2 separate regions of the Homo sapiens genome follow, and region 2 is linked to region 1. Evidence: promoter capture Hi-C in 16 types of primary human blood cells and fetal thymus (Javierre and others, 2016). All regions are on one chromosome and are shown on one strand. The core of a region is centred on a gene start or on the middle of the fragment in contact, and the rest is flanking DNA. Distances in the headings are between cores, read along the strand shown. Region 1 holds the start of CPNE5 (copine 5). Region 2 overlaps RAB44 (RAB44, member RAS oncogene family).

What was found. The method cuts DNA at HindIII sites, captures the fragments that hold promoters and counts their contacts. A CHiCAGO score of 5 or more calls a contact.
Region 2: a contact is called between a fragment that was not itself captured here and the fragment with the promoter of CPNE5 in region 1, in 17 of 17 cell types (activated CD4 T cells, erythroblasts, endothelial precursors and 14 more). The highest score is 13.4, in activated CD4 T cells.

Annotation. Positions count from the first base shown.
Region 1 is chr6:36,837,182-36,844,350 of GRCh38, reverse strand. It overlaps CPNE5 (copine 5), which reads left to right and starts at 4,907. Exons shown (of 21, transcript NM_020939.2): 1 at 4,907-5,068. The coding sequence starts at 4,974. RefSeq lists an enhancer at 2,999-3,549 and a silencer at 4,234-4,443. The HindIII fragment of the contact is 11,867 bases long and covers 3,394-7,169 here.
Region 2 is chr6:36,719,638-36,726,463 of GRCh38, reverse strand. RAB44 (RAB44, member RAS oncogene family) reads right to left here. Exons shown (of 14, transcript NM_001257357.2): 8 at 5,914-6,101; 9 at 3,731-5,313; 10 at 521-602. Among named protein-coding and RNA genes, the nearest start is that of RAB44, 25 kb to the right of the region's middle. RefSeq lists enhancers at 1,564-1,623, 6,178-6,357. The HindIII fragment of the contact is 9,710 bases long and covers 1-6,826 here.

The sequences.
Region 1 (7,169 bases), core at 3,658-6,157:
ACAAGTGACCAGGGTTACTCGGCACTATCATATCTCTCAAAGAAGAAACAACTCCTCCAACGGCAACATCTGTGGGGCTGCTTTTGAACTATCAGCAATTCATTTGAGCAAGAGCTGGGAGCATTTTTCCCCTGGGCCTGATCAGTAAGTTGCTTTTTTTTGTTTTTTGTTTGTTTGTTTGTTTTCTTTTGTTTGTTTGTTTGTTTGTTTTGTTTTGCTTTTTGAGACAGAGTCTCACTCTGTCGCCCAGGCTGGAGTGCACTGGCGCAATCTCAGCTCACTACAACCTCCACCTCCCAGGTTCAAGCAATTCTCCTGCCTCAGCCTCCTAAGTAGCTGGGATTACAGGCCCGCACCACCACGCCAGGCTAATTTTTTTTGTATTTTTAGTAGAGACAGGGTTTTGTCATGTTGGCCAGGCTGGTCTCAAACTCCTGACATCAGGTGATCCACCTACCTCAGCCTCCCAAAGTGCTGAGATTACAGACTTGAGCCACTGCACCCAGCTCCTGATCAGTAAGTTTTACGTTCTGGTTGGCCATGCAGCGGGAGGGTGTCCTTCAGACCACCCCTCCTCCAGTGTCCCCTTCTGAAAAGCCTCTGTGCCCAGCGGAGGCTGTGGCCTTGCATCATGGCCCATCGCCTCCTGGCCTCATATTCTACCTCCACCAACCCTGACCCTGTGCTCCAGCCACACTACAGCCCCCAGTCGCAGATCTCTGGCCCTTCCTCATGCTAGTCCCCTGCCAGGAATGCCTGCACAGCCTTGTCCTCCAGGCAGAAGCTCATCATCTGTAGCAGCCGCTGCCTTGCCAGTGCCCACTGCAGCCTCTAACTTTTCCCACTTCAGTGTGCTCCAGTCCCACACCCGACTGCCTTTCTTTGCCTAAGGCTTTCTCTGGCTTCTGGAACCTGCATTGGCCTCTCTGTGCTGGTTAGGCCAGAAGTGCCAGGAAATTAATACCCTCCAAAAGCAGCCCTCAGCCACTGAGCCAATGACTGGCAGAAGTTGGTATAAACATATCCCAGCTTCCTCACCCCTCTGGCAGCCTAAGTTTGAAATGCGTTCTACAGTCTCCCAGAGTTCTGCAGCAGGACTATACCCTAGTTGCCTGTAGTGATGACTGGCTTGATAAAGCACCTTTTATTGTCTACCTTCCCTTCCCCGTCTCACCTCTGCCCTCATGAATGGATTAATGCCCTTATGAAAGGCATTATCCCTGAGCTAGGCCCCTTTTTGCCCTTCTGCCTTCCACCAAGTGAGGAAGTGTTTGCCCCTCTGGAGGACACAGCAACAAGGACCATCTTGGAAGCAGAGACCTGGCCCTCACCAGACACCATACCTGCCGGCACCTTGATCTTGAACTTCTCAGCCTCCAGAAGTGTGAGAAATACATTTCTATTATTATTAAATTACTCAGGCTAAATAATTTTGTTATAGCAGCAGGAACAGACCAAGACACCTCCCAAATGTACTACTCACATACAAATCTTTGTCTCAGGGTCAGCTTCTAGGGGAAACAAACTTCTAAGACATCACCTCAATGTCCATCTCAGTATCACTTCCTTTTTGCAGTTTCCCCTGACCCTGACCCTCCCTTCTTCCTGTTCCTGGGGCAGAACCATTGGTCACTCTTCTCCCAGAGCCGTTTTTTTGTTTTTTTTTTTTTTTGAGATGGAGTCTCGCTCTGTCGCCCAGGCTGGAGTGCAGTGGTGCGATCTCGGCTCACTGCAACCTCTGCCTCCCAGGTTCAAGCAGTTCTCCCACCTGAGCCTCCCAAGTAGCTGGGATTACAGGCACCTGCCACCAGGCCCAGCTAATTTTTTTGTATTTTTGGTAGAGACGAGGTTTCACTATGTTGGCCAGGCTGGTCTCAAACTCCTGACCTCAAGTGATCCATCTGCCTCAGCCTCCCAAAGTGCTGGGATTACAGGCGTGAGCCACTGTGCCCGGCCTCCCAGAGCCCTTTCTACCTACCTCAACCGCATTCCTCATGCTGCACTGTGGTTTCTCTCTCTTCATGTCCTGGGGCTCCCAGTAGCCTGGGAACTCTTTGGGGATAGATACTGTGTCCTTTTTGCCTTTTATTCTCTGAGCCTAGGACTGCACCCAGCACACAGCATGTGTCATATATATACATTTTTTTCTTTTTTCTTTTTCTTTTCTTTTCTTTTCTTTTTTCTTTTTCTTTTTTTTTTTTTTTTTTTTTGCCAAATAGCCAGCAGTGAAAGTGCAACGACTAAAAGGGAATGGAGTGACACAGACAAGTGTCTACAAGAGACCCTGGGGCTGCTACTCCAAATGCTGTCACTTTGCAAGGTTACTGGGTAGAACTTCAATCTTACTACTCACCTGCTCAACAACCTGCAATGGCTCCCTATTGTTGCCTTTCCCAACAAGGCCTCATTTCATGGATGATTTTCCATCGTCTGGCCCTATCCTAAAAGAGAGTGGAGCCTCTTGCTCAGAGTCAGGCTTTGGTCTCAACTGCCTTGTTTCACATTCTCACTATGCCAGTCCCCAGCTGGGTGATGATGAGTAAGTTACTTAGCCTCTCTGGGCACTGGCTTCCTTACTTATTAAATGTAGATAATATTAGGTTGGTGCAAAGTAACTGCAGCTTTTCCCATTAAAAGTAATAATATCTCACTTATAAAATTATTTTGAGAATTTAAAATCATGCACGGTCCCTGTGAATATGCTACAAACCGCTGATTTATACAACTTAAAATGGTAATTTTATGGTATGTGACTAATATTTCAAAAAAAAAAAGTAAGCATGGTGTCTGGCCCAGATCTTTGAAAATAAAACGATGCTAATTATTGTTATGAACAAGGTTTCCCAAGGCCCTGTCACTGGGCCAGGCACACAGCAGATGCTCAGTAAACACTCCTGGAATGAATGGAGAACATATTCCACAAGCATGCTTTGAGCATTGTTTATGCCAGGTATGTGGGGGATGGGGAACATAGAGATTCCGAGTTCAGTTTTGCATCCTCAGGAAGGGAAGACAGAATTATTCTCCTTGGAGTGGGGCCTCCTGACCCAGCTGTGCCTGGCTGTCAGGGGAATTAACAGCCTCTGTCCCTTGCTGCCTGTTCCAGGAGGCAGAACCCAGTCCAGCTGATTCTGAGCCATGGGGAAATTGTAACAGGCAGAGGAATGTGTTCTTGTATTTATCTTTGACTGACAGTATCTGATGTTCCAGGAATTGACTTCAAACAGAATCCGGAGGAGCCCCTTATGGTCCCGCTGCCACAAACAAGGCCCAGAGAGCGCAACTCTGCCCAGCCCAGCACCAGGTTTTTGGCCTCCCCGCCGGCCCGAGGCACATCGGCTTCGATGTGCCAGGCGGTGGGCGAGGAAGTGGAGGTTCCAGCTCGGCAAAGCTTAGGCTGAGGCTGAGGATGGGCTAGAGTCAAGTCTACGTGTGCAGCCTTACTCAGGGAGACGCCTCTGCGCTGCAACCTCATGCCCGGGAGGGCAAGGCTGGGCTAGGGCGGGGGATCGCGAGGGGCTTGGCTGGGAAGAGGACTGCAGGAGAGGTGTCCCAACTCTCCCCTCGCTCGCCAGGCACACAGCACGCGCCTACTCGGTGCTGGCTGCATAGAAGCCCAGGGAGCTCGGGCCGATCTCCCAGTCTGGTTGCCACCAGACTGGGTGGCAGGAGCTTCTAGACCTGGAGGCTGGCTCAGTCGTGTGGTCACGACGGGCGGGGGAGTGGAAGGGCGCTGGCGCGTGGTTTCGGCAGCCGACTTGGCGAGGCCGCGGCTGGCGGGAACCACGGATGGGGGAGGCGCCCATGCACCGACCCCACCTGGGCCACTGGGAAACCGAGGTAGTCCCTCCTGGCACTGGGGTCGCCCCCACACACCTCCCCAGAAGGAGATGTAGGGTCTGTTTCTGAACTGAGACCCGCCCCCGAGTAGGGCGCACACTCAGCAGAGACCCTCCACACCCAAGCCCCTGGGAGGGGATCTTTTTTGCACACCTCCCTCCCACTTATGCCCCCTCTCAACCCTGCATAGACCTTTCTCAAAAAGGCGCCCGTTGGTTCCCATAACCCTCCCCCTCCCCCAGGATGGAGACCCCTGATGGGAGATAGGGGTGGTGAGAGGGGGCGGGCGCAAATGAAGATGCGCGCGACCAGGACCACCTCTTGCTGTCACCCGCCACGTCCCCAGCATCTGGACCGCGTCCCCCGGCCCGCCACGCGCGCACACACACACACACGCGCACACACACACGCTCACACTCACCCTGCGCGCAGACCCCGCCCGCGGCCCCGCCCCGGCCCCTGCGGGCGCCCCCTCTGGCGTTCCCGGGCGGCGGGAGGCTGCGGCTTCGGGCAGATTTGATTTTCCCGCAGCCCGGGCGCCCCGGAGCCGAAGCCCGAGCCGAGGAGGTGGCGCTCGCAGCCGCGTCTCAGCCCCGTCGCCGCCGGCGCCAAGACCCAGGGAGAGGCGGCGCAGCCCGGGCGCTCGGGCTCCGCGCTGCCGGCGCCCCGCCACCCCCGCCGCCAGCGCCCCATCCGGCGCCTCCCGCTCCTCACGCCCCTCTCCCTGTCTTCTGCATCCCCTCTACCTCTGCCCACAGACGCGCGTCCCTCTCCTGGTGCCCCTCTCCACGACTCCGCGTTTCCCTCCCGGTGCCCTCTCCCCGAGCCCCTCTCCCCGCGCCCCTCTCTGCCTTCCCCGCTGTGCCCCCGCTCCCTGGGCTCCTTGCCCTTCCCCACTGGGCCCCTAGCCTCCTCGCGGCGTCACCCGAGCCCCCTCCTCGATCCGCGGCCCCCGCTCCCTCCGCCCTCTTCCCTCTCTCACTTCCCACGCCCCCTCTTCGCGCTCCTCTCTCCTCCCCTTGCCGCCCAGCCCAGGCTCTGGAGTTGGGGGAGAGCCCAGGGCTCCAGTCGCTCCGGAGGAGGCGTGAATCGCGCAGGGATTGACTAATTTGGGGTGGGGGGTGCGGTGGGCGATGGAGCAGCCTGAGGACATGGCGTCGCTGAGCGAGTTCGACTCCTTGGCGGGCAGCATCCCGGCCACCAAGGTGGAGATCACCGTGTCCTGCAGGTGAGCCTCCCGCTGGCCGGGTCCCCTTGCCCCGGCCCTGGACGCAGAGCCCCGCGGCCCCTGCCGCTTCGATCCTAAACCTCCGCGCGCCCCCTTCCCAGAGTGTCCTGGTCTCCAGGACTGCGCCCCTGCCGATCTGCCAAGAGCCCCTGTCCTGTCCAGCTGCGGGTGGCGACGGCAGAATAGGAAGCCAGGCTGGGGTCATATCCCAGAAAGTTTGCGCTCCAGGCTGTTGCATCGAGGAGATATGAAGACACAGGAACAGGGGGTCCAGGCACCCAAGTGGGGAGAGGGAGTTGGTAAAAGGCTGTACTACGGTCTCTGCTCAGGCTATCTCTGATCACCCCATCCCCAAATCACGAAGTGAGTGATTTGCCCCCATCCCTCCCAGGCTCGTCCACCCTCTCCCTTCTGTGCCCTCCTCTCTTCTCTCTTTGCCCCTTCTTTGCCCCAGCATCCTGATCCTCCCCTCACCAGTCTCCCCCACCCCACTGTCCTAGACTCTAGGATTTTAAAGCCTTCCTTCATCTCTATCAACAACGAAATCGACTCCTGGAAAAGGATCAGATTGACTCATTCATACTAAGGTGTGGATACATGATAACAACTTAAAGTGGCACCATTAAAAAAATAACTTGGGTCAAAAATCTTAAGCCAAAGGAATAGAACACTGATTGTGAAACTGTAGAGTCCAACAGAGGAGGAGGGGGAATATTTTTGTGGGCTACCACGCCCAAATCTTCACTCATGTCACACAGGGTTTGGGGGTAACTTCTCTGTCTAAGAGCTGGGTCGACCCCAGGTTCTCCTAGCTAGGGGAAGGCTGCCCCTGGCAGTAAGAGGGTATGGGTGGCAAAGGGGGATTTTTCCCTAGTTCAGTCTCTCTGTGGCTGGCCTAGGATCATGTGCTGCCACGCAAGCATCACCCACTTTGAGGTTCCCCCACAGAGGCCATGCCCCCTGCCCCAGATCACCGACAGCATTTCTGGAGCCCTGGCTGTGCCCTTGTTCGAAATCACCCATCTCATCCTCTTCCAGGTTGCTCCTTGGTCAGACCCTCCATGAGAGGTAACCTTGTTGCCCCCCAGTCCTGTATTACAAAGTTGTGGCATTGATGAGGTGTAGGTAGAGCTGGAGAGTCTGGGCAGGGGCGTGAAGGAGGGAAGGACTCAGTGTGACTTTCTCTTGAAGACTTGGGGATAAGTGGCAGTGAAGGCTAGTCTGGTTGAACGTAGCTTCCCCCCTAAGCCAGGCCCTCTGGGGGCTCCTGTGATAGCTCCCAGGTCCCATACACCATGCCGTCAGGATCATCTCCCAACGCCATTTGCATCTTGTCATTACTCTGCTGGGAGATTCCTGATGGCCCATTAGCTCCAGTCTCACCTCCTCAGCCATCAAAAGCAGCACGGCCTCCCCACCCTTCTCCTGCACGCACATCCCTGCGCCTGGCACTCCCTCCCAGCCTTCAATCATGCCTGTCATCTTCAGTTGTCTTGGGATCCTTCCCACCTCCAAGCCTCTGAACAGCCCATTCCCCATCCAGATTTCACTCTTCCTTTATCTCCCCAAGTTCATGATCCCCCCACTCCTGAAAAGCCTGGCCTCACGCTCCCCACTTTCAGGCATCCTCTCACCCATGAGACACACAGCTCAAATCATTGTCTTCTGTGTCCCGTGGGCCCTAGGTACTCAGCCTGGGCCACAGGGTCACTCACATACTGAGGATGAAACCTCTTGAGACGTCTCAGGTGTGCAGACGTCATCCCTCCCCTCTCAAAGCAACTGTGTAAGCATTTGAGGGCAGGGATTCCCACCCTGAGTCAGACCCATGCACCCTCTACTCCAGTGGAGAGGAAAGGAGATGGAGGGCAGATAGTGTGGCTTTGGAGTCAGATACCTTGAAACAGAATCTCTGCTTCACCACTTGGGGCAAATTTTAAGCCTCAGTTTCCCCCACCTGTCAGGTACAAACAATAAGCAGCATGTACTCATGGAGAAACCTTGTTCACCAAGGTAGCTCATGTGCTTAGAGCAGTGCCTGGCACTTGCCAAATACTGTTGGAGGAATTAACTTGCAGGAGTGGAGGAGCATGAAGCACCT
Region 2 (6,826 bases), core at 940-3,439, 120 kb after region 1:
AGACCAGCCTGGCCAATATGATGAAACCCCATCTCTACTAAAAATACAAAAATTAGCTGGATGTGGTGGTGGGCACCTGTAGTCCCAGCTACTCAGAGGCTGAAGCAGGAGAATCGCTTGAACCCGGTAAGTGGAGGTTGCAGTGAGCCCAGATCACGCCACTGTACTCCAGCCTGAGCAATACAGCGAGACTCCATCTCAAGAAGAAAAAAAAATTTTTGATCACTACTGCCTAGGTTGAAAGTAGAAGACCAGCATTTTTAGAAGGACAGGTGATTGGGTGGCTGTCCCCTAATGACCATGTTGGGAAGCCCTAATATATGCCCTGCCAGGCTGAGGGACCTCTGGCTCTGCTGCCCTCTCTCCCCTGCCTTGGGCTTGACTCATCTCTCCTTCCCTGACCTCCTGAATCCTTGGGGGGCAGTTGCCTCCTGCCTGTGTTATTAGGGCTGCTCCCTGTCCCTCTGCACCCCTACGCTCAGCCTAGGTTCCTGACACACTGATATACAGTGCCTGTTACCTCTCTTGGCCAGCTGTGTCCCAGAGCTGCAGCACAAAGCACTTGTTGTCCACCAGCAAGGTTTTGACCCGAAAATCTACTCCTAGGACACATAGAGAGGGGTGAAGCCTACTAAGTTACCATCCAGGACTCCTAGCCAAGGCCTACCCCAGTATACACCTGTCCCCTGTACCAGCTGCGGTGCGATGGAGCCCTTGGCTGCCGGGCTTCCCCTCGGCTCTGCATCCCATCCATACTCGAGGACCCACTTCCTCCAAGAAGCCTTCCCAGACCTCCCTGCCGCAAGTTGTGCCAACACAGGGCACCTTGTCTATGTTGTTCATTCCTTAGGCCACCCAGAATATAAGTTTCATTATTTTATTTTTACAGTACTCTTTGTTCCATTCCCTAATTATTGCATGCACTTTCCTCTCTTAACGAGACAGCAGGGGAGACAAGGAGCCCAGAGGGGCAGAAGGAATGCTGGCTTCAGGCAACTGTTACACTGGTTACAGGACCTCAGGCAAGTCACTTCACCTCTGTGAGCCTCTCTTTCCTTGTCTGCAAAGTGGCAAATTAGAAAGACCTACACTGCAGAGTGGCTGGAGGATTAAAATGCTGTTTTAAAAGGCGTGGTGACACATGCCTGTAATCCCAGCTACTCAGGAGGCTGAGGCAAGAGAATCACTTGAACCCGGGAGGCGGAGGTTACAATGAGCCGAGATCGCGCAGCTGCACAATCTTGTTGCCTGGGCAACGAGAGTGAAACTCCATCTCAAAAAAAAAAATGCTGTTTTAAGTGACCCAGAGAGCATGCAATTCTGAACTGAAAAGAGGATAAAACTTCTGGTGTGGAGGCAGGGCTTTTAAGGTAGGTGGCCTTAACTTTGGGGGCCCAGCTAGGGCAAGAAACTGAACCAGGTCTTCAATTCTCTGCTTTCCTCATCTGTAAAATGGGGATAGATATGGAAAATGTACATTCAAATATAACTCCGTTGGCTCTGATTCTCTATCTGGTCCCGTCCTCAAATGCAGGCAGGGTAGAGTTCTTATTTTGTGAGGTGGGGGAGCAGGAATGGAGGGAAGGTGACACTAGGTAGGGAAATATTGACCTATGAAGGCAGGATCATTTCCTGTGGTATTTAAACCAGAAAAGACGATAGCCACCGGGGGGCAGCAAACCATAGCTTGGGATTGGGACAGATCTGGACCAAGCACTTGGATCTCAGGTACTCCCAGCAGGCTAGCAGTGCATGCCGGCTTGCCTGGTTGGTTGGTTGGTTGGTTGGTTGGTTGGTTGGTTGGTTGGTTGATTGGTTGGTTGGTTTCACGATTATGCAGCTGTGTTTTTCTTGATTGAATTTTGTGAGAACTTCTTACCACATAATAAAGGAGGAGGCTCCATTCTAAGGAAGGCTGTTGTAAGGAATAAGACATGTATGGAAGATGCCTAGTGCATGGGAGGTGGTCAGTAAACAGTAGCTTAGGTGACTAATAATGGTAGCCTTGGCCAGGCACAGTGGCTCACGCCTGTAATCCCAGCACTTTGGGAGGCTGAGGCGGGCAGATCACCTGAGGTCACCAGCCTGGCCAACGTGGTGAAACTTCATCTCTACTAAAAGTACAAAAATAAGCCAGGTGAAGTGGCACACACCTGTAGTCTCAGCTACTTGGGAGGCTGAGGCAGGAGAATCACTTGAACCCAGGAAGCAGAGGTTGCAGTAAGCAGAAATCGTGCCACTGCACTGGAGCCTGGGTGACAGGGCGAGACTCCATCTCAAAAAATAAATAAATAAATAAATAAATAAATAAATAAATAAATAAAATAAAATAATGGTAGTGTTGTAGAACCTGTGACCCCACTCAACATCAGGCCAGCCTGCTATAGGTTTCCTCTTCCCGAGGGAACTGCATTTCTAACTAGCTCCCAGGTGAGGCTTCTTGGGCAAGAAAAGTTTGAGAACCTGCCCCAGGCCTCTCTTGTGGGGGGCTGTCATTTACCGACTGGTCTGGCTCTGATCCCCAGTCGGCATGTGCCCTGGTCTAATACAAAGACAGGCGTGACTTCTTTGTCCCTAGGTGGGTCTCCCCTCCATTCCCTCGGGTTTGCTTTTTTTTTTTTTTTTTTGGGAGACGGAATCTTGCTCTGTCGCCCAGGCTGGAGTGCAGTGGTGCGATCTCGACTCACTGCAAGCACCGCCTCCTGGGTTCACGTCATTCTCCTGCCTCAGCCTCCCGAGTAGCTGGGACTACAAGCAACCGCCACCATGCCCGGCTAATTTTTTGTATTTTTAGTAAAGACAGGGTTTCACTGCGTTAGCCGGGATGGTCTCGATCTCCTGACCTTGTGATCCGCCCGCCTCAGCCTCCCAAAGTGTTGGGATTACAGGTGTGAGCCACTGCGCCCGGCTGGGTTTGCTTTTCTGTAGCTCTGTACAGGGTTCAGTGGCCACATATCCTGATACTTTTAGGGAGGGAAGGCTCTCTGCTTTCGGCCATTTCTTGCAGGAGCCACTGAGTTAGACATGATCAAATATTTACTTATAATAATAATAACAACCATAATAACTAATACTTACTGAGTACTCACTACATGTCAGTTATGATTCTAAGATCTTGACATATTAACTAGTCCTCAACCACTCTAGGAAGGCAGCACTACTGTTGTCCCCATTATGCAGATGAGGATTTGGGGGTTCAAAAGGGTTAAATCATTTGTCCAAATTCAGACCCTAATAAGTGGCAGGGCTAAGATTTGAACTCAGGCACCTGGCTTCCTAATTTACCACACTCTACAAATACATTCTGTGTAAAATATCCAACTTGCCCAAGGTGACTTCTTGCCAGACCATGGCTGCCCAGCCTGGAGCTAGTCATGAGCAAATCCAACCAGCACAGAACCTGCTCTGGCCTGCCCATGGGCCACATGAGTGGATACTTGCTTGTTTTCACCATCAACTCTCGCAGGCACCTAAATTGCAGGGTGCATTGTTGATGTGGCACCTTATAAGCTAATCAGATCAATGCAGAAAAAACAAATTACCTGTAATTAGAGACGATTAGTGAAATAGTAAGGTTATGCCCATATAAAACAATGTCTAATGCAGGGCCCGTGGCCAGGGCAGAACCTGCAGCTTCCTCAGGGAGGGCTTGGTCTGGGCCCGCTCTCACTCGTTGGCCCTGGCCCCTGCGTCTCTCCTTGCTCCCTGCCGCCCTCCCCAATGCCCTTACCCACGGTAGCTGTCAATCCGGTGGCGAAAGAATTCTGGTGCAGCAGGTGCAGGAAGGATGTTTTGCCCACGTTGGAGTCTCCCAGAAAGATGACATGGAAGAGGTAATCAGGGTTGGCCTGGGGTCCCCCTCCAGCCATGGGGTCTCCCGGGGATGGGGTCAGCCCAGCTTCCCTGGAGTCCATTCCTGGATCTTCAAGCCTGCTCTCTGCCCTTGGTTCCCTGGAGTGAGGCGGGCCTTGTTCTTCTGCGTGAGCAGTCGTGAGGGATGGCCTGGGTTGGGCTTCCTGCTCAGCCATGGTGGGAGGGGTTTGCGTGGGTTCCTGGGGTCCTGCTCCAGCCCCAGGCTGAGCCCCCCTGGGAGGAGAGCCCCTTGGAGGTGCCGATTTTCCAGGAGTGGGGCCTTCTGCTTCCACCTGAGCCTGTGGTGTGGCAGATGGGAGAGAAACAAGCAGAGAGTCTTGCTGGGGGAGTTCCGAATGCGCAGTTTCTAGGCCGTGAGCCTCAACCGACTGCTCTGACTGCTCTGAACTGAGGTCCTGCCCACCTCTGCCCTCTTGTTTTCCTTCCTCAGACCTGGGTTCCTCTTCCAGCTCCTGGTGGGGGAAGGCAGACAGCTCACCCAGCCCAAGGACCTGGCCATGAGCTTCTCTTAGCCCCTCAGGAAGGCCCTCCTGCACCGCTGGGCCCGCCTGGCCCTGCTCCAGCCTCTCTGTGGGCACCGGACCCACAAATTCCAGGCCCTGGAAGGGCTCAGCTGGCCCCAGGGTGAGGGCTCTAGCCCTCTGGGTCCCCAGTCTTGGCTCAGAGCCAGTGGCATGCAGGTCCTGCTGGAGGGCATCTCTCTGCCTGGGCGGCTTGGCTGGGCCCACTCCTGTGAGGGCAGTTGTGGGTGAGGGTCCGGGCTGGGTTTCCCGCTCAGTCATGGTGGGAGGGGTTTGTGTGGGTTCCTGGGGTCCTGCTCCAGCCCCAGGCTGAGCCCCGCTGGGAGGAGCCCAAGACCCAGGGCCCTTGTCATCTGGGTCTGAGGCCTGGATCTGTTTGCTGGACCCAGCTGGGGCCTGGGGAGGGGGAGAGTTCGCAGGGGGAGGGGGCCCATCCTCCAAAGGAATGAGCACTTTGAATGCAGGTGCCACCAGGCTTCCTGAGAGACCCCAGAGGAGGCGGCCCTCGGGTGTGGACCCTGGCTCCTGGTTGGGGTCCGGGTCGTGCGGTTCAACAGGCTGCTCTGCTCTAATGTCCTGCTCATGTGGGTCCACTCCTTTATTGTCCTTGGCGCTGAAAGTCACCCCAGGTGGGGTCCTTGGAGCCCCATCTGGATCTGAAGATGGCTCCTGACCAAATAGAAAAGCCTGTGGCTCCGAGATGGAGATCTGCCTGACCACACGGGGTGTCTGGGGGCCTGAGGTGGCTCTTGGGGTCGGGGGCGGGCTCCAGCAGAGCTGCAGGGCTCCGTGCGGAGGGCTGCCAAAGTTGCTCAGTAGCTGGTCCCAGTCATCGTTGTCCCCAAATAGCCCAGGCAGGGGGGCCTCCTCAGGGGAGGCAGCCTGAGGGTCTGGGGTCTTCTCACCCGCTCCAGGAAAACTGGAAATGAAGCAGGGAAGCAAAGATCGGGGAGGGGCAGGTAGGTGGTGTCACACCCATCCCACCTGCAGCCCTCACCATCCCTTGCTCTCCCCATGGCCAGGTCTCCTCCCAGTCCTTGCTCAGGCAATCTTTCTCACCTGGTATGTGCTCCCCATTCCTCCTCCTCATCCAATCCTGTCCATCCTCAAGACCCACATGAAGCCTCACCTCCTCCAGGAAGCCTTCCTTGATCATTCTGGCCCATCCCACTTCTCTGAGCTATAACAAGTAGAGTGAGTGCCTGCTAGGGATCTAGCACTGCACTAGGACATGTGTGTGTGTGTATGTGTGTGTGTATGTGTGTACACGTACATGCACACATGTGCATGTTTTACTTCTAGCCATGTGGCCTTGGGCACAGGTGTTTCCCTTTTTTGTGCCCCAGTTTCCTCATCTGAGAAATGGTTGTGATAGTTCCAGCTTGGCAGAGGGTGGGGTTTAAGGAAGGAGTCTATGTGTGCACTGTGTGCTAGCTAGATCCTTAGAGAACTCAGAGTTCCCCACTGGTTCCAGGAGGCCCTTAGAGTCCACCCCAGTCCAGGGATAGCAGCCACTTGCCTCAGTTTCTCCTCCACCTGCCAGGACACCCGGCCCCTGGCGGCGTCCAGGCGCCCCCTGGTCACCTGCAGCTGCCCCCGCACCTCCTCCAGCCGCCCAGCCAGGTCACGCTTGGCCTCCTGCAGCTGCTGGTTCTCTGAGGCAGCCTCCTGATGTGTGCTCCTGAGGTGGGAGAGCTGGGCCTCCAGCTGCAGGGTGGAGGGTGAGGCGGAGAGAAGCCCAGATGCCCTCCAGGGCGCAAAAAGCCTCCCAAGGCCATTGTGGGACACAGACCCCCACCCCCTGTCCAGGCTCCTGGAGACCCAGCTTAAATCAGAGTAGTGGTGGGCGGTTATCCCTCCTTGGCCTAACTAGCTCCATTAGCTCCTATCTAGGAGGGGCACTGGAAATCCTAGGGTGGGGAGGGCAGGGAGACTGTGTGAGAAACAAAAACCACCAGCGCCACAAAGGCCCCACACCCAAGCCAAATCCCACCCTCCTCTACTCAGCGCCCTACAGTGGCTGCTGGCCCCTGAGCCTGTCTGGTCTACAGGGGGCTCCTGATCCAACAGCAAATCTCATGACCCAGAGAGGGAGCATTGCTTGGCCAAGTGAAGGGAAAGGCAAAGCTCTTGCAATGGCCTCCGGGACACTGCACAGTCTCCTGCAGCCTCCTCACCTCCCCTCATGACCCTCACCTCCTTTCCTATGGCTGTTGCCTCAGTCTGTTCCAGTCCACAGCTCTGCTTACTGTTCTGTGAACTTCCACAGCTCATGCCCGCTCAGGGCCTTCGCACCTGCTGTTCCCTCTGCCTGGATGCCCTTCCCCCACATATCACACTTCTCCAGGTCTTCGCTCCAATGTCATCATCTCAGCCAGGCCTTCCTTGACTCCCTTCTCAACTTACTTTGACTACGATTTCAACTCCTACGA